Linked DNA regions of Homo sapiens: all the other regions are linked to region 5. Evidence: promoter capture Hi-C in 16 types of primary human blood cells and fetal thymus (Javierre and others, 2016). All regions are on one chromosome and are shown on one strand. Each heading gives the region's core, a stretch centred on a gene start or on the middle of the fragment in contact. The rest is flanking DNA. Distances are from core to core; before and after follow the strand shown. Region 1 overlaps RRAGD (Ras related GTP binding D). Region 2 overlaps BACH2 (BACH transcriptional regulator 2). Region 3 overlaps BACH2 (BACH transcriptional regulator 2). Region 4 overlaps UBE2J1 (ubiquitin conjugating enzyme E2 J1). Region 5 holds the start of MDN1 (midasin AAA ATPase 1). Region 6 overlaps BACH2 (BACH transcriptional regulator 2). Region 7 overlaps LOC105377891 (a long non-coding RNA gene).

Region 1 (2,706 bases), core at 185-2,684, 410 kb before region 5:
TGTCTCTCAGGCTGGAGCTCAGTGAGTGGCTCAATCATAGCTCACTGCAGCCTCAAACTCCTGGGCTCAAGTGATCCTTCTGCCTCAGCCTCCCAAGTAGCGAGGACTACAGGCACACACCACCTCCACCACACCTAGCTAATTTTTTCATTTTTTTTGTTGGGGGATGGTGGTTAGAAGCAGGGTCTCGCCATGTTGTCCAGGCTGGTCTTGAACACCTGGGCTCAAGCAATCCTCCCACCTTGGCATCCCAAAGTGTTGGGATTACAGGCATTAGCCACTGAGCCTGGCAACTTCTTGATTTAAATCTTTATTCTCTATATTTAGAAGACATCAATGTGGCCTTTTGCCATTTTTCCCATATGGGTTATTACACACGTGCTTGAAGAATAAAAAACGGTTGTCATTTGAAGGGATATTAGGTATTGGTAAGCAACTTCTGCCTTTCTGTAAAATTTTAATATTATATTCCAAAGGGGGCTTTTTCCTATTAGTCTAAAATTTGGGCCCAATGGCCTGTGTAACACAAAGTATAGAAAAATACAAACACACGATTTTGCAGTTTGTAGCTTAACAAAATTAAAATTGTTGTTAAAACAAACTGAGGCCTCAGTGCTTACCCACAACAAACACTCAATAGATGTTTGTTGGGATGATTACATGAAAGTGACTGAGCAGAATTTGAGGCTAAATTAACTGAAGCTTTAAAAAGAAAATTCATGTCTGACTTTGGCCCAGATCAGCACTTGGAACTGGGTATCAAGAGGATCAGCTTTATGCCTAGGTGAAGTTTATTTACTGTGGTCAGGGACACCAAATAGACCTCACCTCTCCTCCACTTGGTGCTATCAATACCCAGATTTTCCAGAGATCTCAGCCTTCGAACTGGACTGCTGTAGACCCCAGGAAATTCAATCACCCAAGGAACAGCACTATGGGGAGGGGTCATCAAATTGAGCCATTATCAGTCTTTAACACCTGAAGGCTAATCACTTAATCCGGAATTATCCAGTAACCAGCAGAGCCCTGTCAAAAACCAACAGGCCTTAGTAAAAAAAGAAGGGAGAAAAAGATGGATTAGTGCCTCGAGTACAACAGGGCTGCCTGGGGACCCTGCCTGACTGATCTGAGGGTTAGGAATGCTTACAACAAAGAAGAAACCAGAAATCAGGAAAATGGGAATTGAAAGCCAATGTTCACCTCCTTACACAGCTCTTAAGGTTGGCCCTGCCATCCTAAGCTCAAGGATCTCTACAGGAAGAATGAGATATCATATGAAATGCACTTCAGAAATTCTATTGAGAAGTATTATAATTAAGGAGAGTTCTCTGAGAGGTAGCATCTTTGAATAGGCTCAAAACAGGAAAATAAACTATTTAATGCAAGAATTAAGATAACATAGTGGCCAGGCACGGTGGCTCACACCTGTAATCCCAGCACTTTGGGAGGCCAAGGTGGGCGGATCACGAGGTCAGGAGATCGAGATCATCCTGGCTAACACGGTGAAAACCCGTCTCTACTAAAAAAAATACAAAAAAATCAGCCAGGTGTGGCAGCGTGCGCCTGTAGTCCCAGCTGCTGGGGAGGCTGAGGCAGGAGAATGGCGTGAACCTGGGAGGCGGAGCTTGCAGTGAGCCGAGATCGCACCACTGCACTCCAGCCTGGGTGACAGAGCAAGACTCCGTCTCAAAAAAAAAAAAAAAAAAAAAAGAGATAACATAGTGGCGAAGTGATGGCAAATGGAATGGTTGAAAAAGTACTAGGTTAGTGTCAGACTAGGATTCAAGTCCCAACTCTCCATTTACTAGCTATGTGACCCCATACATGTCCCCTTGCCCATGAGCCTTCATTTCCTCCTCTATCAGCATACACGCATACACACGGACACACACACAGGCACACAAGGACACACGCACAGGACACACGCAGGCACACAAACACACTCCCCTTCTTTTTTCCCACCCCAAGCCTAGGCAACGAGAGGGTCTTCAGTGGAATGTGACTATAGTAAGAGGCTCACTCAACCTTAAGGGAAAATTAGAATTTCTTCGCTATTAGTATTCTGTGGAATCAACAAACGCTTAAGCGTCTATGTGCTTATGGTTTTAGGAAGAGGCCCCTGGTGTGTTTCTATTTGCAGCTTTCTCTGTGGCTCCTTTAAATTTCTGAAGCTTACGTTGATCAATGGAACTACTTATACATTCAAGACCCAGGAGTTCAATAAGAAATTCCAACCCAAGTGGGAATGAATCATATGACTAATACTACTACTAACAAAAGCTATGCAAAAATCACGAAGATTCACTGTCCATTTGATTAACTACTTAGTAAGGAAAATTAAATGCAAACAGAACACATATTTTTCAAAGGCATAAAGATTTTTGAAGGTGATTCTTTTATTTAGCGTGAAAACTAAATCTTTATGAAATCCTCTCAAGTCACACTGGCAAATAACTAAAAAACATGATAAATACCACATATGAATATTTCCTTAACATATGTATTCAGTAGCAGTCCTAATGATAAGGGGAGTGCTGGGAAGGGAAGGGTGTGGTCCCTTTAAACGGTATGGAAGGGAGAAGGGAAGTGCCAGGCAGAGAGAAGGGCATGGTCCCTGGCTAGGGCTGCACCCCCACAGGCCTAGGTGAGGTCAGGCATTTCCGGCCCAAATGTTGCAAGACCACCGTGGCCTGCCACATCCCCATC
Region 2 (2,841 bases), core at 155-2,654, 460 kb after region 5:
AATATCCCTTTTGAGTATTCTTAACAGGTATTCAGAACCCTAATCTGCTTTTGAATTTTCAATGAATATAAAAGAAAAATTTGAAGACATTAATGGAGAATTTTAAAGCAAGAATCTAATCCTGTATGTTAGAAAGAAGAAAATACAACGTTATGTAATATTTTAATTCTTATAGGTGCCCAAATACATAAGCAACCTAACTTTGACATCGGGGGAAACTGGACAAATCCATTTAAAACTAATTTAGCAACAAATACTTACATGGTTCTGTGGACATGTAACATCCCAAGGTGTTTTAAATTGATAATGTCACCATATGAACTGATAATTTTCAGTTGAACATACAGTTTATTCTATAAAATCATTAAATCTTAAGAACCATGAGGGATCTTAGAGACATTTAGCCCAGTGCCTCTCAAATTTTGATGTTTATGTGAGACCCCAGGGGCACCTTGAGAAAGTGCAGATTCAGACTCAGTAGGTGTGGGTGGCCCTGAGACTTCATTTCTAACAAGCTCCAGGTGATGCCGATGCTGCTGGTCCAGGGACCAGGCAGTGGGTATTGTGGCCCCAGTCAAGTCTAAGGGAGGTCCCACAGCCTCTGCTTGGGCATCTCCAGTATCCAGGACTTGAAACCTGCCTCCAAGGGTAGACATTACAGGGAGGGACTTGTATATTACAGAGAGGGAAGCAACAAGGAAAGGCTGCTTCCACTTCTAGTGATGGAAGACACTCTTTCTCTCCCAACATCTCCTCTTCTCCATGTTGAAAATCCCCACTTCCTTTGGCCACTCTTAGAACTGATAGGTTTCCAGACCCCTAAACATCTTTATCACAGAAAATGCTCCCTCTGTGGTGAAAATCTTTCTTAAAATAAATCCCTTGGGACAAGACATAGCATCCCACACATGGGACATCCAGACCTGAGAGTAGTTGAGTGAGAACATTACATTCCCTGATCTAAAGGGGACAGCTCTCTTAATGTGGCCTTAAGGAGGTGTCGCCTTCTGTAAGAATCACACTGCACTGGTGGCTCACAATGTTGTGGAGGAAATAATACCAAGCAAGTGTTCCCATGTGCACTTGAACAATTATTTTTAACTAAAATGTAGCAATTTACAGTTATTTCTATTTAATGTCATCTTGCTACTATAACAACTCACATAAATCCTTTAAAATGTTTACTAATAGGTCACACATATATAAAAAACATAGACAGTTTTTAAAAACAATTAAGAAGAAAGAATATCCTTGGGACCACTGTCCAGGTTGGGAGATAAAACACTGCCAGGACCTCAGAAGCCCCCAGTGAGCCCCTTCTCTATCATACCCACTCCTTCACCTCTGGAGGTAGCTGTTATACTGCTTTTTGTGACAATCATATTAAATCATATTAATTTTCTTTATAGTTTTACCATCTATGTATGTATCCCTAAATAACATATTTAGTTTTGCATGCTTTTGAACTTTACATGAATAGAATCACACTGTATATATTCTTCTATCTTGCTTCTTTCTTTCCATATTGTTTGTAAGATTCATCCATTTTGATGCACTTTTATTTGTTTAACAAACACATATAGAATGTATTGTCTGCCAGTCATTCTCCTAAGCATGTCACAAACATTGACTCATTTAAACTTCCTAACAACACTATCAGGTAGACATCATTTTCCCTGATGTACAGATGAGAAAACTAAGGTACACTGAAGTTCAGAAATTCATCCAAGGTCACACAATAAGTGGCAGAACCAAAATCTGAACCCAGGCACAATCCTTCCTCTTGACCACCAAGAAATGCTGCCTCTCCACACCCTTCTATATGTGGTTATACTAGTTGATTTTTCATTGCCAAATAGTATCACAGTGTATAAATACCTCACAGCAAAATGTGCTGATTCGATTCAATGTTGATGGGCATTTATTTGGGTTGCTTCCAGTTTTTTGCTCTTATGAACAATGCTTCTTTGAATATGTTTGTCCATGTTTTTTCTTTTAAGTTCAGGGGTATGCACATGTACTGGTTTGTTACACAGGTAAACTTGTGTCATGGAGGTATGCTATACAGATTATTTCATCACTCAGGTATTAGGCCTGGTATCCATTAGTTATTTTCCCTGATTCTCTCCCTCTTCCCACCCTCTAATAGGTCTCAGTGTCCGTTGTTCCCCTCTATATGTCCATGCGTTTTCATCATTTAGCTCCCACTTATAAGTGAGAATGTGCAGTTTGGTTTTCTGTTCCTGTGTTAGTCCGCTTAAGGATAATGGCCCCCAGCTCCATCTATGTCCCTGCAAAGGACATGATCTCATTCTTTTTTATGGCTGCATAGTATTCCATGGTGTATGTACCACATTTTCTTTATCCAGTCTATCACTGATGGGCATTTAGGTTGATTACATGTCTTTGCTTATTGTGAATAGTGCCGCAACGAACATACACGTGTATGTGTCTTAGAATAATTTATATTCCTTTGGGTATATGCACAGTAATGAAACTGCTGGGTTGAATGGTATTTCTATCTTTAGGACTTTGAGCAATCATCACAGTCTTCCACAATGGCTGAACTGATTTACACTCCCACCGAGAGTGTGTAAGTGTTCCTTTTTCTCCATAACCTTGCCAGCATCAATTATTTTTTGTTTTGTTCATGTTTCTTAAAGCACATAGGTAATCATTTTTCTTAGGTGTATACCTAGGGGTAAGATGGCTGTGTTGTAAGTTATTTGCAGGTTGAACTTGGTTAGGTAACAGCAAATTGTTTTCCGATATAATTGTACCAAGTTAGACTCCTGTCAACTAAATACAAAAACTCCCATTCATTCACATCCTTACATGGTA
Region 3 (3,029 bases), core at 503-3,002, 360 kb after region 5:
TCAATGTTACTTCAAGTTGGAAAACACAGGCATTTAGGAAGTTCTTTTTCTATATCTAAGTTTTGAAATTAATATTTATTATTTTTTCTTATTCCTTATTCTAGGAAAGTTGAGAGTTCTCATTTATACAATGGTTTTCCTATTACACTGAAATCATAAGAAACTCTCTTGGTAGGTTTTAAAGGTAAATTATACAACCATTTTGTTTTCACAACTGCCTGTATAAGACAGAAGAAAAACAACAAATGAACAATTAACTGGTAAGGAAAGAATATTAACTAATAAGAAATGTCAAAAAGGCTTGACTTCTCATATTAAAAACAACTTTTTGGTGGAAAAAACCTAATCCCTTCTTTTGAAAGAGAATTTTTCAAAATTCTCAGTGTTGGGGCGGTGGGGGGTGAGTGGCTGGGGGTTGGGAAATCAGATCTCAGATCAATAAACAGGCAAACAGGTTGACTAAGAATAGAAGGTATCATTATGTATTTTACATATTTTGTATTTTCTGCATATTAGATGTTTTGACATCTTAAAACTACCTTTCTGGCTAGAGAGAGACTGTCTCTTTCAAGGCTAGCCGATTCTCAGAGATAACAAAGAGCCCGGCTGGTAGCATGCCTTTGACAAGAAAATTCACCAATCTAGAGACACCCCTCCTCTATCTGGCCCTCAGAGGCAATATTTCTCTGCCTTTACTATACCACAGCCAGGTACCAAGCAAGCAGGGACCACCCAGAAAGCTTGGAGCCTAACCAAACTACTTCAACTAGCAATTCTAAACTGTTAACCCTGCCCTGCCTTGCCTTTCCCTTGGAAACTCCAATAAAGGCTGTGGCTGGCCCAAGCTCTCCCCTGGCTCCTGCCTTCTGCCTCCTGACTAACACGGGTGTTTTCCCTTGTGGCCCTGCGTAGCATGTGGTGACACGCCTCTATGGGACCTGTGAATGTAACAAATTTCTTCCTTCCAAGCCCTGTTCTCATTTCCCCTTCAGTGGCTGTACTGATTTTATCACATATCCAACATGTACATTCTTAAAACACATAGCAAAGCAGGAGTTTCAGATGTTAACCAAGGTCTCCAGGAATGACAATTCTGGAGCTCAGGGCGAGCAGAGATTAGTGAAGGAGGGAGCAAATTTACAGGAAACAAGAATATGCAAATACTGAGAGTTTGAGAGTTCAGTGGTCGAAAAACAGGAGATAGCTGTGGAAAGTGCACACTGGGAAGGGGCAGCTCTGAGGCACCTCACGGCACCTGGACAACCTCAACCAGCTTAAGGTGCCTAACAGAGGAATTTATAAGCTTCTTGCTGGTATGGGAACAAATCCCCAAGTGAGGTGCCTGCTAGATAGATCTGCAGGTTGAAGTAGATCAGGGAAACGACACACCGGAGGAGAGGGATGTAGGGGCAGAAAAGAGGGGCCCATCCAAAAAATGTGTGTGTATCCCCACCTACCCTTACCTCCTTCCACTTTTTCTACAAGCGTCAGAACTGCTCAACATCATCACTTCCAAATCAGTTTTGGTGACAGAGTCCAATTGCCCAAACCAGATGCAATGCCCTCATTATGTCTTACCAGCCCTCCTGCTCCTGCCTCCTCCAGTTCATGCTTCACGTAGCCACAGAGTAATCTTTATAGAACACAAATATCACCATATTACTTCCCAGCTTAAAAACCTTTCAGGATTGACCCATATCCACCCAGAGTAGCCTCCAAGCCACTTAGATTGTCCTCCTTTCTGCCGTCCTTCTGGCTTCTCTGGCTGGAGACTTTAGACCACAGCACTGTAAACTGATTCCAACTCCATGTTAATATGTTAATTTAATATGTTAATATTAAAATATTATTTCATGGGTCCAGGTATTAGCACATTATGTACTCTTTTCTCCTTCTGAAAGGAAGAATCTTTGCCTGCCTTAACACTATTATTCATCTTCAAAAATCTGTGCAACACTTCATTCTGAAGCCTCCTCAAACAACTGCAGTCTGCTCGCTTTATGGACCACCTTGCTGCTCTCATTACATTCAATGCACACTATTTTATTCACATGTATGTCTGTCTTCCCAACTACACTGCAGACTACTTGAGGGCAGGGATGGTATCTTATTTTTTCTTTGTATTTCCAGTGGGTAGCACAGCACCTGACCCATAAAAAAACTATCATCTATTGAGCACCTACCGTACAGCAGATCCCATACTAAGCTTTTCAAATGTTATGACGTGAGTTCCCACAACAACTCAATGAACTATTTATAATTACCTCTTTTACAAACGAGGAAACTGAGATTTAGGAGGTTAACATCCCCAGGACCTTCCAGTTAGTAAGTGGTAGAATTCTGATTAGGACTTGGGTCTCTGACACCATTGCCTACGTTAGCTCCTTGGGCCTCTGGTGAAACGTAATGCACGAAATGTGGATCGGATCGTATGAAATCTCCCCCAACTTACACCCTGGGTTGAAGGCTGTGAAGCTTATGCAGAATGCTAGAGGAGGCATTAGGACATGGGGTTTCTGGTTCTGCCACTGATTAACCTCAACTCTGGGCTGTCGCAGGCTTTCTCTGGGCTTCACTTTCCTCATGGGGGAAATGCCATCCTTAACAGATCCCATGTCATATCCTCACTCTTAAGGACCTCTAAAGCTGATAAGAAGGTACTGTGAATCATAAACCTAGGTACTCTTTCTAGATATTGGCCTTGAAACATCTCTTCCTTCACTGAAAAACTGCTTCTGAAAAAGGATGCCAGAAGCCACTTTTGGTCAAGAAAATGTCCACTTTTGTTCTCAGCACAGAGCAGGTACCCGGACTTTCCCTGTTCCCAAGTGCTGTAGACCAAAATAGCAGGGAACCAGGATGAAGTCAGCCAGAAACACGCTTTCTATAACTGCTCTTCACAGAAGAGAAAATCAACAAGCTAGTGTTTAAATAATGTGCAGGGTGTGATACCAACCGAACCTCCGCCCTCCTTCCTGGGGAAATGCAAAGTTTGCTGTGGCCTTTTCACAAACCTCGGAGAGAATGAA
Region 4 (2,701 bases), core at 35-2,534, 480 kb before region 5:
GCAATCCACCTGTCTTGGCCTGCCAAAGAGCTGGGATTACAAGTGTGAGCCACCATGCCCGGCCCAAAATCATTTTTTAAAAGGTTTCTATTATAGACTGAGAATCTAGAATATACAGTGAGAAGCCTAGAAGAACAAGAACTCCAGTTCTTTTTTTTTTTTTTTTACCTCGCACATGAAATCAACTGGATAAAGGCATCAAGATAAAAAAACCAACGTAGTAAATCGAATGAAAACAAATACTATGTATTCAAAGTACATAGTGTAATCTATGAAGAGCTGTATAAATAAAGTACATACCCATAGTTTGGAAATAAGGTTTAAAAAGAAAAGTTGCTTATAAGACCAAGAAGTCTACCAAATCTTCCAGATGCTAAAATCTAACTGATTTAGCAAATATCTGTAGAGGGCCTACTCTGGGGTGTGCTAGGGTAAAATATGATATAATTTAATTAACATAATATGTCTGAAGGGTGGTAGGCAGCAGACTCCAGAGCAGAAAAATTATCAACATCAAAAATTAGGTATCAGCACTACTCAAAGAGGGGCTACTCTGAATGGAAGGACTGATCTTGGTCATATAGACAAAAGTGCACCTGCACCTGAAAAAAACAGAGAAGGCATCACTTCTCTGTTTGTGATTGCCACTGGGCAATCACAACTTGATAAAATCTCTTTTGCTTTATTCCAGATCATTTATTAAGCACTTGCTATGAGCTAGATGCAAAGATGGATAAAGTGGATTACCTCTTGGCCCTCAAGAGGTTTGTAATCTTGTGGAAAGCTACAAATAATTGCTCTGGTTCTTTTCCATCTATAATGCCATAGTGGAAACAAATGACTGGTATTGTTTTCCAGGAGAATATATCTCCCACTGAATTTTTTAAAAATAGTGAAATAGTATCAACTACTTTTTAAGACTAGATAGCATTAAATAAATTACTTAGATTCTGGTCACTCCAAGGAAATTATTACAACTGAATTCCTAAAAGAGCAAAACTGAGATAAGATCCTGTAGCTACAGTCACTCAGAAAATAAGTCACATAGTAAGAGGTAGGCCCTACCTCCTAATAGCCATTACCCTGAATACTATTCAGACCTCAAGAAGAATGAAATGCAAAACTTACTTTTTGGCAAGTGCTCTTCTTTCCTCAGGAGTGTAATCTAGAGAACCTATGGCTCCCTCTCCTTTTGTTGGCATAAACCCAATGATGGCTAATAATGCTGTCCTTACTGAAATAAAAAAGTAAATATCAATCTAAATTGCTTTGTAAAAGCAACTGGGTTTATTCTGGAAAAAGAAAAAATCAGAGTATTATACTTCATAACTATGAATTGACTGAAGTTATGAGATTTATATTCACTATAAATTAACACTTACTACTCCACGAAGGCTGCCAAGTTTCAGGATGATGGCCTGAGATGCTCAAACAGATTTTCTTGCCCACTTCAAATCGACCATTAGCCTGAGGAATAAACAATGCATTTAGAAAATTAAATACATGTGCTTAATGTTTATACTTTCTGTAAAAATATACTATTTATATATAATAATTTTAGAGATTATCTTAAAAAGTTTGTTTTTTTTTTTTTTTTTTTTTTTTTTGAGATGGAGTCTCGCTCTGTCACCCAGGCTGGAGTGCAGTGGTGTGATATCAGCTCACTGCAAGATCCACCTCCCGGGTTCACGCCATTCTCCTGCCTCAGCCTCCCAAGTAGCTGGAACTACAGGCGCCTGCCACCAGGCCTGGCTAATGTTTTGTATTTTTAGTAGAGACGGGGTTTCACCGTGTTAGCCAGGATGGTCTCGATATCCTGACCTTGTGATCTGCCCACCTTGGCCTCCCAAAGTGCTGGGATTACAGGCATGAGCCACCGCGCCCGGCCAAAAAGATTTTTTTTTAAATGTAACCTCTCATGGGACACAGATTTTTTGTCCTTATAGACTCCAAAAATACTTGTTGGATGCTGAATAATAAAAGCTGTTTTTAGAAGGTGTTTTACAGCACCTTTTGAAACTGAGTTGCACAAGTGAAATCTAAATAATTAACATGTAAAGTTTTACTGGCCAGCGAAGTGGCTCACGCCTGTAATCCTAGCACTCTGGGAGACTGAGGCAGGAGGATCACTTGAGGCCAGGAGTTCAAGGCCAGCTTGAGCAACTTAGTGAGACACTGTCACCAAAAAAAGAAAAGAAAGAAAATTAGCCAGGAGTGGTGGCATGTGCCTCTAGTCCTACCTACTTGGGAGGCTAAGACAGGAAGATTACTTGAGCCCAGGAGTTCAAGGCCACAGTGAACTATGACTGCATTGCTGCATGCCAGCCTGGGTGACAGTGTGAGACCCTGTCCCCAAGAAAAGAAAAAAAAAGAGGAGAGGAGGGGAGGAGAGGGGGGGAGGGGGGAGGAGAGGGGATGGGGGAGGAGAGAGGGGAGGGGAGGGGGGAAGGGAGGGAAGTGGGGAGGGGAGGGGGGAAGGGATGGGGAGGGAAGAGGGGTGGGGAGGGGAAGGGGGAAGGAGAGGGGGGAAGGAGAGGGGAGGGGGAAGGGGAGGAGGGAAGGAGTGGGGGAGGGGAGGGGAGGGGAGAGGATTTACTAATGTCCTACCCTGTGCCTAGTATGGAGCTAGGCTCAGTTAAGAATCTAAAAGAGGCCAGGCATGGTGACTCATGTCTGTAATCCCAGCACTTGGGAGGCTAAG
Region 5 (2,890 bases), core at 24-2,523:
GGACCACACTCACCTGTCCCGTGGCTCACGCCTGTAATCCCAGCACTTTGGGAGGCTGAGGCGGGTGGATCACGAGGTCAAGAGATCGAGACCATCCTGGCCAACATGGTGAAACCCCGTCTCTACTAAAAATACAAAAAGTAGCTAGGCATGGTGGCGCTCGCCTGTAATCCCAGCTACTGAGAGGGTGAGGCAGGAGAATCGCCTGAACCCGGGAGGCGGAGGGTGCAGTAAGCCGAGATCGCGCCACTGCACTCCAGCCTGGCGACACAGCGAGACTCCGTCTCAAAAAAAAAAAAAAAGTGTCTTCAACTCAGATAGAAGGAGTCAATGAGAAGGTTCTTAAAAGCCCGAAGACCTATTTCCCAGAAAACTCTAATTAACCTTATAATTTGTATAGTTAGTTACAGTGAGTATGAGCTGTCTTGCTCTGTACTTCAGCTGTTGTAAGTGTTTACGAACTGTCTCCAAAAACAGATGCAAATTTCCCTCATGGCAGAGATCGTAACGAATTTATCTATCCACTTTCTCACAGCGCCACACCGTTCCTTACGCACAGCAGGAATGCAATCAGTATTTGTCGATGGTTCCCCAAACTAACAGGAGTGGCTGCACTACGCACACTTAGGTGATACGTACACTTGTCAAAACGGCAGAAACGCAACCTCAATTTCAGAAAAACAAACCACATTCCTTTGGGAAGGCCACCTCTGCCACAAGCAGCCAAAGCGCTTGCATAGGGGTGAGAGGCGATGGGAAGGGTACTGGAAGGCTCCCCCAGATAAAAACAAAAGACTCCTTCCAATCGCCTCAAACACGCTCGGAAACCTCCACGACCTGCGCCAGCCCACAGGAGGGGGCCAGCTTGACCTGAGGCTGCACCACTCCCCACTTAAAGCGGCGAGTATCGGCGGGGGAGCGCAGGAAGCTTACTAGTGGGGCGACCCAGTCGTTCCGGCGCTTTCCCTCTCCCTTCACGTCTTACCTGCTTGGCCAAGAACCTGCCCAACTCACTGCGGCTCTTCTCGTTCTTGGCTGCGATTAACCGCAGCGGCGCGGCTGCCACCTCCAGCAAGAAGTGCTCCATGACCCAGGGCCCTCACCCCGAGCGGCCACCTGCGCTCCCTACTTCGCGGCCAGCGTCCCCAAGCCGCCGAGGTCCCAGTGCCCGAGCAGCCAGCAACTACGCCCGCAGGAAAGGCGTCCTCAGCTCCAGCGCCTACACCGGGAGAGGGGCACCACACGTGGGTGAGCACACGGCGTTTGACGTCATCAGCTCGGGACGGCTACGCTGCGCCCTCCCGGCCTCAGCCCCTCAGCGGCGGAAACGCCAGTCTTCGCTGTCCCGCCTTTTCCGGGAGGGAAATGGAAACAAAAATCTAGTCGGTTTGGATGCAGGAGTGATGGGGACTCGCGAACACAGCACGTGGTGGGACAGAAAGAAGAGTGCGTTAGGCCGGGGAGGAAAGAGGGGGCGTGTGAGTCTCAGCCCACCGTGCCTTGCTTCTGCCTTAACACACGGAAAGATCAGATGTGAGAGAAAAGCTGATTCTCGGCCGGGCGCGGTGGCGCATGTCTTTATCCCAGCATTTTGGGAGGCCGAGGAGGGCAGATCACTTGAGGTTAGCAGTTCGAGACCAGCCTGGGCAACATGGTGAAACCCCCTTCTCTACTAAAAATACAAAAATTAGCCGGGCGTGGTGGCGCGCGCCTGTAGTCCCAGCTACTCGGGAGGCTGAGGCAGGAGAATCGCTTGAACCCGGGAGACGGAGGTTACAGTAAGCCGAGATCGTGCAGCTGCACTCCAGCCGCGCGACACAGCAGACTTTTACTGTCTCAAAAAAAGAAAGAAAAGCTGATTCTCCCCTTCTTGTTAGCGGTGGCAGTTACCCCCTGTATAGGTAGGGGTCAGCAGTAACCTTAGTTCTTGCCTCCTCAGAAGAAATAATTCCACGAAGGGCATAAGGCAGGATAGACCTAGACAAGTTTCAGAATAGAAGTAAAAGTTTATCAAAAAGCTTTAGAACGGGACGGAAAGAAAAGGAGGAAAGTACAACTTGGAAGACTGCCAAGCAGGCGACTTGAGAAACCAAGTGCGCAGCTTGACCTGTTGACTTGAAGTTTTATATGTTGGCATACTTTGGGGAACTTGCATTGCTTCTCCCCACTCCTGAGATCTTACTGGGAAGCTACTGATCAGTTTCAGGTGTTTTCTATTAGGAGACTGCCTTTCGCTGGCCCCGGTGAACGTTAGAGAAACAGTTAAGAACCGCCTGACCATCGTTTGATTGTCACCCAATAGTCCTGGTATGTGTGGGGTGGGGAGCGCTCTCCTGTTCTGCTCATACCTAACTAGTTAACATTCTGCCCCAGCAATTCCCCTTGTAGGACTCTAGCCTGCGGAAATCCTCACTAAGTGTGACAAAGACACCCCTTGCAGTTTTCTTAATACAGATATTGGAAGAAAATGTTCAATTGGGAATATTAAACTATGGGGTGTAAGTTATAGCATATTCTGGAAGTCATAAAAAATAGTAGAGTCCATAACATTAAAAGTGCACTTGTGGGCTGGGCGCAGTGGCTCAAGGCAAGGCAGGCAGATCACGAGATAAGGAGTTGGAGACCAGTCTGGCCAACATGGTGAAACCCTGTCTCTACTAAAAATACAAAAATTAGGGCTGGGTGCCTTGGCTCACGCCTGTAATCCCAGCACTTTGGGAGGCCGAGGCGGGCAGATCACCTGAGGTCAGCAGTTTGAGACCAGCCTGACCAACATGGTAAAACCCTGTCTCTACTAAAAATACAAAAATTAGCCAGGTGTGGTGGTGCATGCCTGTAATCCCAGCTACTCAGGAGGCTGAAGCAGGAGAATCGCTTGAACTCAGGAGAC
Region 6 (2,932 bases), core at 356-2,855, 430 kb after region 5:
ATGGTTTCTTTTAAAACAGACATTACTGAAACTGTAAATATTTTTAGCCTTTTGTACTTTTCATCCAGCAGCTTAACTGAGAATGATATAGAAACATTTAAAAATAGCCACTCAGTACTCTGAAAACCATTAGTTTAGCACATACCCAGCACCTGCTTGACACATCTTAATCAACACTCTTTTGCTAGTCATATTAAAAAAAGAGAGAACCCTTTTGCTTTCAGAATTTTTTCCCTTAAAAAACGTATGTGTCACCAGGGTATTTTGCCCTCTCTCTTTCTAACTTAGAGGGTAACACCTGGAGTAAGTCATGGGTGACTAATGAAGATGCAACTTTCCCCTCAGCATGATATACTTCACAGGATGGAAGTAAAAGCTTCTAATAGGAGCATTTATTACAATTGTTAGGATTGTAATGGAAAGTTAATTTTGTTTTATAGTTTGTAGAAATGATTCAGGATGATATGAGAACACTTTCTATAAACCTGCACTGATAAAAGGAAGATGATAGTGATGACACATGATATACTTTCTGAGTTGTTTTTCCAGGGGTGGGAAAGTTCAATCCACAGATTTCAAGACAGAAAGAAGAAAGGAAAGGAGAAGGAAGGAAGAAAGAAAACAAAATTTTTTTTAGAATTGACTATGCTCAAATACACTGTGCTTTTTAGCATCAAACTTTCAACCATGGTCTGAGCAGCACTATGTTGTAACAAAACTGGAGTAGCCAGCCTGAGCAAACATGAACATCACAATATTTTAAAGTTCAAATAACATAAGGCACCAGTTTTAAGACTGCCCGGGTATCCTTTTTAGCAATACAAAGATTCACACAACTTGGTGACAGACAGCTTTTCCCTCCAGCCAAATCTGATGAAGACTTGATAATATCACCTGCCATAATCAAAATTCCTGGGCACATGGGAAGGTCTCTGACTCAAATCAAAGAGAGCTTTGGGCCCCAAAGCTATGGGCCCCACAGCTATGGGCTACCAAAGAAAGGTTATAACCAGGCTCCAGTGTAAACCATTTTGTTTCTTTTAACAGTTTTAGATCTTCTAAAGTATATGAGATGATATTAATAAAATTTAAATTTCCTGCTAAATTTTTTTAGTCTCTTTCCTTAAAAGTAAAACTTACAATGATCAGAAAGCATGCTTTCTTCTGGCTTTATCATTCAACTTCCCAGGCAAAGATGATCAACAGCAACACTCTTATCTAAAGCAAAAGTAATGGATATGATTATCACTCTGGACAGAAAGTCTGTATTTGCCCATTTTTATCAATGATTGAGACAATGATCCAGAAGCTGTATTGGTACAAAAACACAACACCAGGGATGCCAGAAACAGGATTACAAAAGTTCTCACAAGGTTAAAAATAGACCAAAATGAATATAGTCAAGTTTACTAGGCTCAAATGTGAGGTCCTGTATGGTCAGTACATGGAGGTCCAGCAGCCTCTTGATTCAATACAGGCAGTGTGATGGGTTTGCAAAAATGTACTCTTAGGCTGCATTAATAAAGACACTGTTCTCAAGGCCAGATAAGCCACAGTCCCTCTCAAACTGCTCAGAAAGAGTAGCTTTAGGGCCAGGTGCAGTGGCTCACGCCTATAATCCCAGCACTTTGGGAGGCCAAAGCAGGCGGACCACTTGAGGTAAGGAGTTCAAGACCAGCTTGGGTAACATGGCAAAACTCGTCTCTACAAGACATACACAAATTAGCTAGGCATGGTGGTATGCAACTGTAGACCCAGCTACTTGGGAGGCTGAGGCAGGAGAATTGCTTGAGCCTGGGAGGTGAAGGGTGCAGTGAGCCAAGATTGCGCCATTGTACTCCAACCTGGATGACAGGAGTGAAATCTTGCCTCAAAAAAAAAAGGGAGGTACTTCTATAATTTGTCCACTACCTTTTAAGGAACTTTCTGATAAACTGGAGAAAGCAAAAAGGAGTGAGATCAGAATGACTGTGGAACTAATATTATGAGAAATATTGAGGGGAACTGGGCATAGATAACTTTGAAAAAGACTTTATTATGGCAGATTTGCCAAGTAAACTGATAATTAGAATTATTTTCGATATAGAAATTAGGATACCTTAGAAGAGGTATCTGCATTTGATGGGTGTTAAACTTCAGGATGTTTAAGGTCTTGCTCAACTCTACCAATCTGTAATTACATGGGGAAAAGTGCTATGTCCCTCATGAAATTAAATACTAAGAACTGGAGGGAGGCTGCATCAACAGATTTTCTGTATCATGTATTGAAGAGTTAATTTTCTCCAACCAAGCTAGTGAATGAAAGGGTAACTCAAGATGAAATAATGATGTCAAAGCATTTTTAATATACCTCGTGGAAGAATCCAAGTGTATTTTAAAGAGAAAACACAGCACTTGTTACACCATATATTTCATATTTGACCTGAAGTTGGTTACACAGAGGCCTTAGTCATAATAAAAAACTTCTCTCTGCTCAAATGCAGTATGTACATAGTCATAAATGAAAACATCATTGCCGAACTATTTTTTTTAAACTATCATGGCACAAATTGCTTTTAACAAAGAAGTCATATTCCAAAAGACCTTTTGTACACAATTGTGCAGTGTATCTTTGTCTTACTGTTTAGTATCCTAAAAGAAATAGTTTTCAAAATATCTACATTCATTTATAAAAACTTGAATGCAGGTAATTTAGCAACAAATCACAACTAGCTGAGAACTGACATAAAAGAATGATCTCCAGGGCCAGAAATAAACCCCAAAAGATAAGACATACTAGAAAAACATGAGAGAGAGAAACAAAATCAATAGACTATCATCTCAATATCTAGTATGAAGCTTGGTAAAGAGTTGATGAATAGAAATAAATGATCCCTACAGACAGACTCAATTAAGTATACAGCATAATTTGTTCATGAAAAAATGAGTATGT
Region 7 (2,884 bases), core at 156-2,655, 480 kb after region 5:
CTACTGAGCATCTGTTACATGTTGAGGTGAAAAATTAAGAAACATTGGACTGTATCCTTAAGGAACTTAAATCTACATAAGGAGTCAAAACTAATATACATGAAACAATTGAAAAATGTAATTTTGTATTTGATTTTATTACTTTTATATATTAATATTTAAAATTATATAGAAATTGTATGTGTTATAATTTATACTAATGAAAAAATTAAGAATGTACAGATCTTTTTTGTATGATAGCAAAAAGAAAATGGAAAAATCCAAATGCCTTACAGGAAATGATTGGCTAAATAAATGGTGGTTCATATATAAAATATGAATATCATGGATCCATCAAAAATAATATTGGTGGCTGGGCACGGTGGCTCATGCCTATAATCCCAGCACTTTGAGAGGCTGAAGCAGGCAAATTTCTTGAGCTCAGGAGTTTGAGACCAGCCTGGACAACATAGTGAAACCCCATCTCTACCAAAAATAATAATAATAATGAAAAAAATTAGTGATGAAAATTTATGTATATTGATATATTAATATTTTGTTAGTATAGTTTAACAATAATTTGTATAACTATTTACAATAGGATCCTATTTGTGAAAAAAAATTGCCAGTGCATGCATAGGAAAAATCTGGAAGGCTATATGCACAGTGTTCAAGTGGTTCTCTTGAAATAAAGAGCCTATAAGTGGTTTTACTTTTGCTTTTTAAAAAAATTTTCTGTAATATAAATATATTACTTCTGTAATAAAGGTAGCCAATAAATGTTGTAAAATTCAAAATATGCATAATTAAATTCTAACAAGAACTTAAGTATTGTAGATGTTAAGAGGAAAAACAAATTATGAAGGTTAAAGTAGCCAGAAAAGGTTTCACTGAGAAGGTGGAATTTCAGTTGAACCTCAAGGCCAGGAAGGAGTCAGAGAGGAGGGAAGGTGGCTGGACTTTTAATGCAGAAGGACCCCTTGAGGTTACACTTTCATCTGACTATAGCATTCATATCTTGCAGTGTTGGGAAAGAGTGAGAGGTTGTGATGTCAAGAAGGATAGGTCAGAAGTGGAAGGTATGGGGGATTGTGCCTGCTGTCATGGCTAGCAAGGAGTACTGAAGTACCATGGTGACAAAATGCCATTGTGATCATGACTCATTTTTTCAAAATGTAGATTTTTCCTTCTTTCCCCTCCCAATGGCCAAGACCTTGTACCTGTTACTTGCCTGTTTTCTTTTTTTCCAGACACACCTCGAGCATACACAACCTATGTACTAGCACTATTCTAACTTTTGGAGATAAAACACTGCATAAGTCAGGGCTCCTGGACTAGTGGGGAAGGTGAACCGGTGAAGAAGTCCTCACAGCACACCATGCTAAGGGCCTGAATAGGACAAAAGTCTTCTGGCAAGTGACTTTGCTTAGGAGAATGTGGGATGGCTTCCTGGAGGAGGTGACAACAGAGCTGGATTCTGAAGGATGAGATTTTGTGAAAAGAAAATGTTGGAAGGTCATTCCAGGCAGGAAAATTGGAGTAGCGAAAGTGCAGGAATTGAGATGGTTAGCAGCGACAGCCAGTGGTGGAATATGGGACTGGAAAGGTAGACATGGGAAATCAGCATGAAGGTGTAATTTTATCCACAGATCAAAATTCTCATTGAACTTTTCCAGTGAAGTGCTCAGAATGGCAGAGAAAATGGAATGCTAACTTCCTAGGGATCTGAGAACATGGCCCCAAATTGCCTTTTCAAAGCATAAAATGTCTTTGCAGTTTCCTGTTACATGTTAAAAAATCACCTGAACTTCTTTTGTTCTCTTTGAAGTACATGGGTTGATTTTACTAAAAAAGTTTAACAATTTGTGACGATCAGGACTAAAAGTTCCTCTCCCACACCCAAAATCAAAGTACTGAAGGATGTACTTGAGGAAAATGCTCCGAGTTTATCTTCTAATTTCCCCAGAAACACTGAAAAGCCTGGCTGCATGGGTAGAAAGCCGATGAGTGATCCCCAGTTGCCAAAGAGGCATAATCAGATCTGGTTTTGGAAAGAACACAGCATTGGCCATATGAAGGGGCCTGAAGAGGCTGGAGACTATAAGACAGTAGCTCAAGTCCTACAGCCTATGTTAAGGCAGTGAGCAGGGCTGGGAAGCGCTTATGGTTTAGGGGTCATTTGCTTGTGGGAGGAGACGGAGAGGGAGGAAGAAGAGAAAGAGGGAATGGAGACCTCTAGCCTGTGTGACTAGGAGGGAACTGGCCCTGGGAGGCAGGAGGAGGCTAAGATCACTCTGGTAAAGGGTGGAGTCAAAAGGAGGGAAGTTTGACTTCCTCAATGCTGAAGTTTGAGGAATAGCTGGGTTGGGGATGGATGTGGGCACAGAACAAGGAGTTTATGAAAAAGACAGGAATGGAGCCAACAGGAAGGTAGAAAATCAAGCAGAGACTGGGAAGTTGAGGAAGGTAAGGAAAAGGGCATTTCAATGAGGGGCCTGGGAATAGCATCCCATGATTAAGAAAGGTCTGGTGGGATGGGGGCTGTGTGATATGACAGCAAGGAGCTTCTAGACCCACTGCAGAGGAGGGGGGGAATGAATGAGAGAAGTGGGGGCCTGGAAAGATGGAGAAAGGCAGGAAGGTAGGAATCTGAGTGAAGGAAGAGGTAGAAGGTAAGGTAATGGAGCAGATAACAGAAGGAGCACTGATGTAGAGGAAAAAAATGGCAAGAATGCAGAACTCTGGGGCAGGGGTAAACATGGGTAGGTGGAAGAAAGGCAGAACATGAGCATTAAACAGAATTTGCAGGACGGGGGAGGATCACTCAGATCTCGCCTCTGAAAACTGTCTGGATTACAGGGACATCCAAGAAAGGGATGATGCAAAGATTTTGAAGCTTCAGGAT

Evidence for each region. Contacts are between HindIII fragments. The CHiCAGO score rates a contact against its expected background, and 5 or more counts as called.
Region 1: a fragment that was not itself captured here is called in contact with the fragment with the promoter of MDN1 in region 5 in 1 of 17 cell types (erythroblasts); the score reaches 5.4 in erythroblasts.
Region 2: a fragment that was not itself captured here is called in contact with the fragment with the promoter of MDN1 in region 5 in 2 of 17 cell types (activated CD4 T cells and total CD8 T cells); the score reaches 6.4 in activated CD4 T cells.
Region 3: a fragment that was not itself captured here is called in contact with the fragment with the promoter of MDN1 in region 5 in 1 of 17 cell types (activated CD4 T cells); the score reaches 5.3 in activated CD4 T cells.
Region 4: a contact is called between a fragment that was not itself captured here and the fragment with the promoter of MDN1 in region 5, in 1 of 17 cell types (neutrophils). The highest score is 6.9, in neutrophils.
Region 6: a contact is called between a fragment that was not itself captured here and the fragment with the promoter of MDN1 in region 5, in 2 of 17 cell types (total B cells and activated CD4 T cells). The highest score is 5.4, in total B cells.
Region 7: a fragment that was not itself captured here is called in contact with the fragment with the promoter of MDN1 in region 5 in 2 of 17 cell types (activated CD4 T cells and fetal thymus); the score reaches 5.3 in activated CD4 T cells.

Annotation. Positions count from the first base shown.
Region 1 is chr6:89,403,666-89,406,371 of GRCh38, forward strand. The region is part of intron 1 of RRAGD (Ras related GTP binding D); the gene reads right to left. Among named protein-coding and RNA genes, the nearest start is that of RRAGD, 7.3 kb to the right of the region's middle. The HindIII fragment of the contact is 1,469 bases long and covers 701-2,169 here.
Region 2 is chr6:90,280,177-90,283,017 of GRCh38, forward strand. All of the region lies in intron 1 of BACH2 (BACH transcriptional regulator 2), which reads right to left. Among named protein-coding and RNA genes, the nearest start is that of BACH2, 15 kb to the right of the region's middle. The HindIII fragment of the contact is 6,848 bases long and covers 1-2,841 here.
Region 3 is chr6:90,175,188-90,178,216 of GRCh38, forward strand. The region is part of intron 4 of BACH2 (BACH transcriptional regulator 2); the gene reads right to left. Among named protein-coding and RNA genes, the nearest start is that of BACH2, 120 kb to the right of the region's middle. The HindIII fragment of the contact is 903 bases long and covers 1,302-2,204 here.
Region 4 is chr6:89,337,077-89,339,777 of GRCh38, forward strand. It overlaps UBE2J1 (ubiquitin conjugating enzyme E2 J1), which reads right to left. Exons shown (of 8, transcript NM_016021.3): 4 at 1,383-1,467; 5 at 1,129-1,234. Among named protein-coding and RNA genes, the nearest start is that of UBE2J1, 14 kb to the right of the region's middle. The HindIII fragment of the contact is 6,108 bases long and covers 1-2,701 here.
Region 5 is chr6:89,818,521-89,821,410 of GRCh38, forward strand. MDN1 (midasin AAA ATPase 1) reads right to left here and starts at 1,274. Exons shown (of 102, transcript NM_014611.3): 1 at 986-1,274. The coding sequence starts at 1,087. RefSeq lists enhancers at 1-351, 928-1,317, 972-1,591, 1,592-2,211. The HindIII fragment of the contact is 1,090 bases long and covers 927-2,016 here.
Region 6 is chr6:90,251,373-90,254,304 of GRCh38, forward strand. It overlaps BACH2 (BACH transcriptional regulator 2), which reads right to left. Exons shown (of 9, transcript NM_021813.4): 3 at 1,141-1,218. Among named protein-coding and RNA genes, the nearest start is that of BACH2, 44 kb to the right of the region's middle. RefSeq lists an enhancer at 223-312. The HindIII fragment of the contact is 2,462 bases long and covers 375-2,836 here.
Region 7 is chr6:90,300,973-90,303,856 of GRCh38, forward strand. All of the region lies in intron 1 of LOC105377891 (a long non-coding RNA gene), which reads left to right. Among named protein-coding and RNA genes, the nearest start is that of BACH2, 5.6 kb to the left of the region's middle. RefSeq lists an enhancer at 2,104-2,248 and a cis regulatory region at 2,176. The HindIII fragment of the contact is 2,935 bases long and covers 1-2,873 here.